Regions from separate parts of the Homo sapiens genome. Here all the other regions are linked to region 1. The links are contacts of gene promoters, found by promoter capture Hi-C in blood cells and fetal thymus (Javierre and others, 2016). All regions are on one chromosome and are shown on one strand. The core of a region is centred on a gene start or on the middle of the fragment in contact, and the rest is flanking DNA. Distances in the headings are between cores, read along the strand shown. Region 1 holds the start of MIR381HG (MIR381 host gene). Region 2 has its middle 110 kb from the start of LINC02285. Region 3 overlaps MEG8 (maternally expressed 8, small nucleolar RNA host gene).

Region 1 (3,011 bases), core at 183-2,682:
GTCAGAGGTGGGATCCAAACACAGGAAATCGAGCTCCAGAGTCTGCGCTCTTGATACTGAAAAAGTGGATGACCCTGTACGATTCGACATGAGCAAAACGAACAGGACAGGGATAACCACTCTCCAAGTACCAAAGGTTAGCACGGAAAAGAAAGCCACTGCCTTGGGTGGACTTGGTACGTCTTCAAGGCGCGGTCCTGGGGATGAATTAGATGCTGAGGGTTAGTGGACCGGGTCACATACCCCAAGCAGAACATGCACACTCACGGACCGAGTAACAGCAGGGACCACAAAGCCACTACCCCACACGAGCGCCACCCCAGCCATCGGCCCGGGCTGATGACTTCCCGCTCAGGAAGCAGGGACCCAGACCACACACATCGTGCATGCTTTTGGCCCCGCCCACACTGCACCAGGAGAGGGGATGTCCCAGAGGCCACTGCCTTCCCTAAAGTCATCCAGGTGCCCGTGAAGTCCTCTCTGTGAAGTGGGGACCCGTGAACGATTTGCCACACACAAAACGGATACACACGGTCATGCACACACATACCGCATCCCTTGCTGAGTGTGGACTGGGTCCAAGACAAGGTTTGATACTCACAGAGAGCTTGCCCTTGTATATTCCATGTCAATAAACCGAATATACAAAGGGCAACCTCGCTTTAAGTACCAAACAATAGCACTGGGCAGGTTCCTCACTATCATTCACGGGGCCGGCCTCCTCTCCCGGGGTTCATCCTGGCGGGGGAGGGGGTGGGAGATGCGGGATCAGCAGACCAGGTGGCAAACACCACCTGCCAGCTGTGTGCCCATAGGTCAGCTCTCCATCCCAAAGGGGCCAGGAAGGGGCAGACGCCAGTGCCCCTTCACCAGAATCAGCCTCTTTTCCAGGCATCACTCCAGATTAGAACTTGTTCCTGAAAAGGAGATCCACCCCACGGGCCTTCCTGGGCACACGCAGAGCTCAGCTTCTCACTTTCTATAGGAATTCCCTGGGGTGGGACCACCATCTCCTTCCCAGTGTGGGCACCTCTCCAGGAAGTTTTCCTAAGGATGCACTCAGCACCGAGGTCCCAGGCACTGGATGAATTTACACCTTAGACAAAGCAAAGGCCCTGTGGTCACCATCCCTTCATCCATCTCACAGAGCCGTTGACACCAGTGTCATTCTCCATGCCAGCCCTTGCCCCACCCCTGCCAGAGGCTGGCATCGTGGCCATGAAGCCATGCTAAGAAAGAGCACAGGGTCAACAGTAGTAAACCCCACGTACCCCCAAGTAACTGAGGAAGCAGACCCACAGCCCATTCCCCACAGTGGTCTCTCCTTCAAGAAGGGGAGAGGAGCGGGAGCCGCCTGGTCCAGGTGGCAGGTTATGTGACTCATTACCCAGGCGTGGTGCTCACCTCTCTTCAGCTGGACGTTCGCTTTCCTTGGGCTGAGGATGCTGCGAATGTCCTTCCTGAAGCTGGCTTCGGGTCCAGATGACCCCCATGGCAGTCGGGGTGTAAAAAGCCGGCAGTCACACGGCCCAAGGAGTGTCTCCACAAACACAGAACAAGAGTCCCATTCTCAGGCAGCCATCCTAGGTGTGAGCAGAAAGCCAGCAGTCAGAGACGGGGCACAGACATCGAGGCAGAAGCAGGCGCCCTCTGACCTCCCACATGCACGCACCTGGTGCGGGGCTGACAGCTCCCACGGCTCATCCCCAGCGCTGCCTTCATGGGCAATCACAAATGACAAATAGAAGCAAACCATTCTTACAGATTCAGCCTGGGGACTGCGAGCTGGATCATGAACACCCAAGCATCAAAAAAAAAAAGCGCTGATGAGCACACCTCAGCCCCTTCCCCAAGGTCAATACCACCTCCAGGAAGCCCTCCTGGGGCTGGCCTACCAGGCTCGAAAACAGCATAGACAGAGCCAGTGCTCCGTGGTCCACCATCACTGCTGTCTGTGTTCCCCTTGAAATGATCCAACATCCAGGTCCCCCTTCTAAGGCTGATGCTGGGAACAGGAAGCCTTCTGTGTATGACTTGGTACCAAGAAGAGGCAGATCAATGTGTGATTTATCCTTAAAAAAGCAAACCACCATTAAACTTGGAGCACACAAAAAGGTCCCTCCTCTCCCACTGCTTCCAGGGAGTCCACAGGAAGAACCAGCATAGAGGGCGAAGGCAGAACCCAGGGGCAGCGTCACAGCCAACCTCACGTTCCCGGACATGGAAGCCAGGCCATACCTGAGAGGGGCTGACATCCGAGGCTTTGTCCTGGAGACAAGCAGGGTATGAGTGTCTTCTCCGACAGTTTGATACGCAAATGAGAGTCTCCCCCTGTATATTCGCCATTAATCAAGTGAACATACAAAGGGTATCCTCTCTTTAAGTACCAAAGGGTGGCTCAAAGAGCAGGTGAGGACCATGCCGGGTCTTTGCCGGAGTGGACATCTCCTCCTGCGAGGCCTGAGACCAAGGGGGAGGGGCCCGGTGACAAGCCTCATCTGGCTGACCCTGGAGCTGGGCCTGCACCTTGCACATTGTGGCCTGGCCCCGAAAGGTGGCACATCCAGGACTCCCTGCAGGCGAGACTGGCTTCTAAACAAGGGAACAGGTAGGCATGACTATCAGTGTGCTCAGCATGCATGGGTGAACCTGCTTCAAATACCCACAAGCTACATGGACAATGGAACCATCACCTTTCTCCAAAGGGGCACAGGGTGTGAGGGCTCAGCCCGGCAAGACATGGAGTTATCAGAGAAGAAGGCATCTGCAGGCATTCTCAGAGCTGGAGAGCGCTGAGACAATGTCTCTCCTCTGAGGCTGGTTGTCCTAGAGATGACCAGATCCAAGAATGTGTCACCTGTACCTACCTCGAAACAAACAAAAAGAGGGCCCCAGCGTCAGACTCTAGCGACAAAGGAGTCCTGAAGACCAGACACACCTGCCCAAGGCACACTCAGGTGCAATCACTGGACAATGTGCTCCGAGGACTGGCCATTGGAGTCCAGCGACAG
Region 2 (3,011 bases), core at 368-2,867, 190 kb before region 1:
CGTTGCCATCAGCATAAGAGGCCTCATCTTCCCCACCGTCTCCGAGGGCCCTGGATTATTAAGAGAGTAACCAAAACTGAGGTTTTCATTCCCCATGCTCCTCTGAGCTCCTCGGTCCCGAGATGCTGTTGAGGCCATGTTTTCAGTTCCCCAGGCCTCCGGCTGGCAGGAGCCTCCCCTTGGCTCTGATCCTGTGCCATCAATCTTGCTCACCAAGACTCAGCCCCCGTCTGGGTGGGCTTAGGGAGGCGGGAGGCCTGGTGGCTTGGCACGTGGAGGGGGCCGCAGAGGCGCATGCAGGAGGCCCTGGCCTTCCTGGGGAAACGCCTGCCAGCACCTTTTGCAAACAGCCCGCCGGGGCAGGAGCAAGAATGCGCGGGAAGGAGCAGTGTGGGGAGGAATGGTGCGGGGTGGAGTGGTCTGTGCCGTGGGCCCTTGGGGCCTGAGGAAGGGCAGGTTTTCAGGAAGCCCCTGAGGCCCAGGGTGCACTGTGCACCCTCATTTTGCCACACGTCTCCTCTTGGCCTTTGCAAACTCTGCTCTCCAGCTGCCAACATTTTTTGACAGCGAGGCACCGCTTTAACCAGACCCCAGCTCCTGGGCCTGAGAGCACTGCTTTACGCGGGCTAAGCACAGGCCCGGCGCCGAGAGAAAACACATTCATGAAAGCATCCACATTAATCATGGGCGATGGCACAGAAAGGAACCGAGGCTAGCACTAGACAGCACTGTGTGTGGGGGCACTTGTGTGTTCATGTGTGTGTGCGTGCTTACATGTGAGCGTGTGTGTGTGCACTTACAAGAATGTGTGTACGGATGTATGCACGTGACCGTGTGTGTGTGTGCGAGTGCATATGCTCACGTCTGTGTGTGCGTGACTGTGTGCGTACCTGCCTGTGGGGGGGCACATGTGTGGGCATGTGTATGTGGGCATGTGTATGCAGGCATTCATGTGTGTGCACTGTGCTTGAACGCTGGCAACATGTCACCAAGAATTCTGCTAGGCAAGGAGAAAGAGGCCCGATGGGCTGTCCCAAGCTTTGTTTTGAAAGGCCCTTTTCCTCTCCTCCTCACAAACCAAGTCATGCCTCTCTGACTTTGCCATTTCCCTTGGCCCTGGCGGCGGTGTTTGCCAGCTCCGCAGGGAGGTCTGGTGGTCTGGTTGTGGGGTGGTGTTTCCCACATTGTTGAAAGGTTTGGTGGGCAAAAGCATCCAGTTTTCATCCTGACCCCAAAACCTCCAGCCAAGGCAACTGACACTCAGTCAATAATAATACAAAATTAATCTCATGTTTATATGGAATCTTCCACCCCAGAGACAATCGCCTTGTTTGGAAGCTGGGGGTGGATTAGCTGGTGCGTGACCCGTGTGGGTGAAAGTGAGGAAAGCCAGCTTCAAGGCCAGGCCACCACCACACTCTGTGACCTGGGACCTGCCACCCACCCTCTTGGCCTCGACATTCCCTAGAAGGAAGGACCAGGGCCAGGTGTCTCCTGGAACTCTGAAATCCTGAATCAGAAGTGTGACCCTGAGAGTAGGTCTGTGTGCTCTTGCTAGGAGGATTTGCTGTCTAAAGGCCATGGCATCCAAGGTAGGTTCTGAACATGCAGAGGCTCATGGAGGAGGAATACAGGAGGAGGGGAAGGCATAGGGTTGGCTCCTGGGACTTGTGGGCTGTGTGGGGTTTGGGGTCTGTTTCATGCTTGACACATGTAAACATTTACTCAAACTCTGTCTCACTTCATGAAGGAACACCTCAGCCTACAGGCACGATATAGCAAAACTAAGTGAAACACAAACACACAAAAGGTCCCAGGTAAGAGTAAATATACATGAGAAGAACTGAACAGCAAAGAGAAAAGTAAAACACAAATATACAGGCCAATAGGTCCTGTAGAGTGGATTTGTCTGAAGTTTTGAATTTGTCTCTGAGATTCCTGGAAGCCAAAATGAAAAGGGAAATAAGATTAGTTCAGTTGTCTTCACAATCCCTTAGAATAAGATTTCCCAACTCTCTATCCATCAGGGCACACAGAGAATATGTGAGACCCCAGGGGAAAATGTATGGGGCCACTGTCATCATCCTGGAGACCGTCCCATGAGCTGAGCAGAGCAGTGTCTTTGCACACCAGTGTTAGGAAAAGGCTCTGTCAAAGACAGCAGTCATTCAGTGCTCTGGAAGGTGCAAAGCTTTTTCTAGCTTTGGCTCTGAAAGATGCTTTTCTCATGAGGCTCCATCTAGGTGGCCCTGAAATGAAAAATGGATAATGTCCCCAACAGCATCTGGACAGCAAATGCGGTGATGAGTCTCATAAAACTGCTTCTTGTAACTGCCCCCCGTGAAAGCTGAGGGCACGCATCCAAATGGCAGAGGCTGCAAGGTGAGAGTGAGCTACAGGCAGACAACCTTGTAAACCTGGCTGGGCACTGTGCCCACCTGCAGGGTGAGGCAGGTACTCGTGCCTTTCCTGAGCACCTGCTATGTGCCCAGTCCTGATAGGAGGTTTATATACATGGTCCTGTTCAATCCTCCCACACTGAGCACAGTGGCTCCAGAGGCCCACTTCATAGATGAGGGCCCAAATCTCATCCATGACCCAGCCTCACACCAGGTCTCTGTGGCCCTGCAGCAGCTCTGTCCTCTCCCTTGGCCTGGTCCTTGGACCTAGTGGTCACCTAGGGTGCAATGCTCAGGCTGTGGTTCTGGAGCTTTCCAGCTTGTTCGAGACAGCAGGGTGAGGCACCTGCACAGGTTAGGGTGGGCACCACCACAGCCCAGGCCTAGGCATGGTGCCCTAGACAGGGCACTGATGGTCAGCTCAGCCTCAGAAAGGGCCAAGGCTCACACACCTGCAAGTCCCTGCATGGGATGAGGTCCTCACACCCTCCCTGTGCCCTTGTCCTCGCTGAGCCCTTCCTTGGGGTGACCCCATCTTATCCACAATCACACCTCTATCCCCATTTCACAGACTTGGAAGCAGGCACAAATGATACAGGAGTGCTGGGAAGG
Region 3 (3,011 bases), core at 159-2,658, 140 kb after region 1:
TTAAGGAATTTATATGTTTGCCTCATTTAATCCTCAAGTACTCATTAGTAAGGTACTATCGGTATTAGTAAGGTACTGTTGGTACAACTGAAGAAAACGCGGCACAGAAATTAAATACCTTGTCCAAACTCACAAAAGTAGTCAATGGCAAAGCTGAGATTGAAACCTTAGCACCTAGAATGTGTGAAGTAGGGCCTAGCCCATGAGCAGGTTCTCAAAACCTATCTGCTAATGTTAACCCAGGTCTGCAGCAAGGCTTACTGATTCGCCATTCAGCCCTACATCCAGTCCCCTCCCTCCTTGCCTTGCACTGGAGTCATTTTTACATCTACTACCATTAGCATTCAGTCAGAATATGAGATGCCAGGAATCTAATTTGACTTGATTAATTGTACTGTAGGATGCCAGTGATATGTGTGGCCCTTGCCTGTGTGATCATTACAAATAGAATACACTAGAGATATTACTTGGGAAATAAGCTTGGATTTGATTGGATGAGAAGTTCAGCTCACTGACAGACCAAGAGAGTGAGTCCAATATGAGACAACCCCAAGGCAGATTTCTTCAGACATGGTCATAGAGAAAAGGAAATAAACAGGTTGAGGGGATGAGTTTGGAAGGAAAGAAGACTCGAGTTCAAATCCTGGGTCTGCATTTCCTCCTTATACGATTTTGGGTAAGTCACTTACCACTCCTAAACTTCGGTTTCCTTTTCACTTAATTGAGAATAGAAATTGCTATCATGGAGGGTGGCTGTGATGATTTAGAGGAGATAAAATTATGCCAAGTGCCAGTGAAGGGCTGAGTATGCGGTTGGGGCTTAGGGCTTAGTCATCCAGGAGAGCCAGTGGAAAGGCGGATGCCTGCTCTTCGTCAGTGCTGCGTGAAAGCAGCAGAGACGGAGAGTTGCCACTGAGCAGCTCCAGCACCACAGCTGGGACTTGGTCCCTGTAAGCTGGCATCCCACCTGTTGTCCCAGAGCCACCTGAGCCAGTCAGTGCGCTCAGAAGCAGAACAGAAGGCAGGAGCTTCACCAGCAAGCTCCATTCAGAGGGAACCTCTCTTCAAAGATCAAGTAAGCCTTTGATCTTGGTGGGAAATTGACTATCCTCTCTCATTCCTCTCTCCTTCCACCACCTGTGCTTCAATTCACTCATCCATCTTACCAGCATTCATGAGGTAGCCAGCCATCTCTCCATCTATGCATGTATCTTGATGTAGGCATCCATCCATCCATCAGACCTGACATCCATCCTTCCACCTCTCCATTTTGCAGAGGAATCACACAGACCTGAGTTGGAATCCTGGGTCTTGCTTCCTAGCCGACCTCGAGCAAGTCACTAACCTCTCCAAGTCCTCTAATCTGTAAAATGAAGGGAAATCAGATGTCGCTGGGATGAGGATTTAAAGAGAGCGTAGACATACCAGTGTCTGGCCTCAGCAAAGTCATTAAATGTTCATTCCCTCTGCTTCTGCAATCTGGTTGGGATTTATGCAAGGAAATAAACCACCGCATCTTTTGCATGACATGTTGAGAAGTGCTTTTTAGAAATTATCTGCGATGTTTTAGTGGTGTGCATCTTCCGGTGGCACCCAGGGCTGGGCAGTGGCCAAAGCAGTTTGGGGTGGTGGTCCCCCCTGGACTCACAGTAGAGAGTGCCATCTAGTGGATAGGCACCTGCCGGGGTCCCCTGTTGGTCCCAGGTCACAACAGCTGAGGTCAGGCAGCTAAACGGCAAGCCAGGAGGTCCAGGCGAACCCAGCCCCCAGACTGTAGGCTGCCCTTTTTGGGATGTAGTGCATGTGCTGTTTTAACCACTCAGGGGACCTGGACTGCCAGGAGCCTTTTGTTTTATGGACAATAGCCAGCTATGTTTTGCCTGCCCCTGCCCAAATCCCCTTTAAACGTTTCTGGGAAAAAGAATCATTCTCGCAGCTACTGTTTGCTGAGTGTCTCTGACATATTAGACATGCGGCTGGGGCTTCAGGGGTTAATGCTCTAACCCTCTCAATGACCCAAGGAGAGACCCAGAACTTGCCCCATTTTCAGTGAGAACACTGAGGTTTGCTGAGGTTGAGTTTCTCATTTAAGGTCCAGGCAGATATTCAACCCCTAAATGTGTAGCCATACTTACCTTCTAGAGCCCCAGATCCCCTTGAAAGAGCAGGAGATAGTTTGAACACTGACTTGACCAAGCCAACTGTAAAAGAAATTTATGAGTCAATCAAGAATATTGGAATGCTACATAGATGGTGGATGATATTAAGGAAAGGCTATTAATTTTTTAACTTGTGATAATGGTGTTGTGGTTTTATTTTTAAGAAACAAAAGCTTCTTATTTAGAGATACAAACTAAAAAATGCTCAGAGGAAACAGGATGGTGTCTGAAATTTGCTTCGAAATAGTCCAGGGGTAGGGGTTGGGCAGTGGGAGTAGAGGGACAGTTTAGGGTTTAGATGAAACAAGAGGGGCCAGGGTTTGACGGCAACCGTGTCCGGGTAATGGCAAGATGAAAATTGAGTAAACAGTAAAAATACGTACTATTTTCTCTACTTTTGTGTTGTTTGCAATTTCCCATAATAAAGGGATTTTTAAATCAACAAGTGAAAATACAGTGCAGAAGATGAAGGGCTGGGGGTGAAGGGTGCCATTTAAAAGAACAGAGGGGCCTGGGGTATGAGAGAAATTTTCTGGAGTAGCAGGGAACTGATTCACAGGGGGCAAATGCCTCAAAGTGAAAAGGGAACTAGAGGGGCTGGATCCAGAGGGAAGAGAATCATTCCACGTTGAGTGGACGGAGGACGATGTACCAGGGTGCAGAGTGTTGCGGAACGAGACACCCGCCAGCTGCCCAGAGACCCTCCTGCAGCCCCCAGCGCTCCTCTCCCCACTCTCCCTCCCAGTCCCTGCCTCCCCGAGCCCTCCAGCTCTCTCCCTGACCCCTGGCTGGAAAAGGGCCTGAGGGTACCACTCTTCAAGGCAGAGCGGCCACCTGATGAGCCCTTCCCTG

The links. Contacts are between HindIII fragments. The CHiCAGO score rates a contact against its expected background, and 5 or more counts as called.
Region 2: a contact is called between a fragment that was not itself captured here and the fragment with the promoter of MIR381HG in region 1, in 1 of 17 cell types (endothelial precursors). The highest score is 7.3, in endothelial precursors.
Region 3: a contact is called between a fragment that was not itself captured here and the fragment with the promoter of MIR381HG in region 1, in 1 of 17 cell types (endothelial precursors). The highest score is 5.6, in endothelial precursors.

What each region holds. Positions count from the first base shown.
Region 1 is chr14:101,043,578-101,046,588 of GRCh38, reverse strand. It overlaps MIR381HG (MIR381 host gene), which reads right to left and starts at 1,432. Exons shown (of 3, transcript NR_104192.1): 1 at 1,405-1,432. MIR1185-2 (microRNA 1185-2) reads right to left here and starts at 2,391; the gene lies at 2,306-2,391. MIR381 (microRNA 381) reads right to left here and starts at 669; the gene lies at 595-669. MIR487B (microRNA 487b) reads right to left here and starts at 134; the gene lies at 51-134. RefSeq lists enhancers at 1-323, 324-824. The HindIII fragment of the contact is 10,476 bases long and covers 1-3,011 here.
Region 2 is chr14:101,230,441-101,233,451 of GRCh38, reverse strand. No RefSeq gene overlaps it. Among named protein-coding and RNA genes, the nearest start is that of LINC02285, 110 kb to the right of the region's middle. RefSeq lists an enhancer at 411-1,057. The HindIII fragment of the contact is 1,153 bases long and covers 1,041-2,193 here.
Region 3 is chr14:100,905,288-100,908,298 of GRCh38, reverse strand. It overlaps MEG8 (maternally expressed 8, small nucleolar RNA host gene), which reads right to left. Exons shown (of 51, transcript NR_146000.1): 6 at 2,136-2,201; 7 at 1,167-1,363. Among named protein-coding and RNA genes, the nearest start is that of RTL1, 3.1 kb to the right of the region's middle. The HindIII fragment of the contact is 1,853 bases long and covers 482-2,334 here.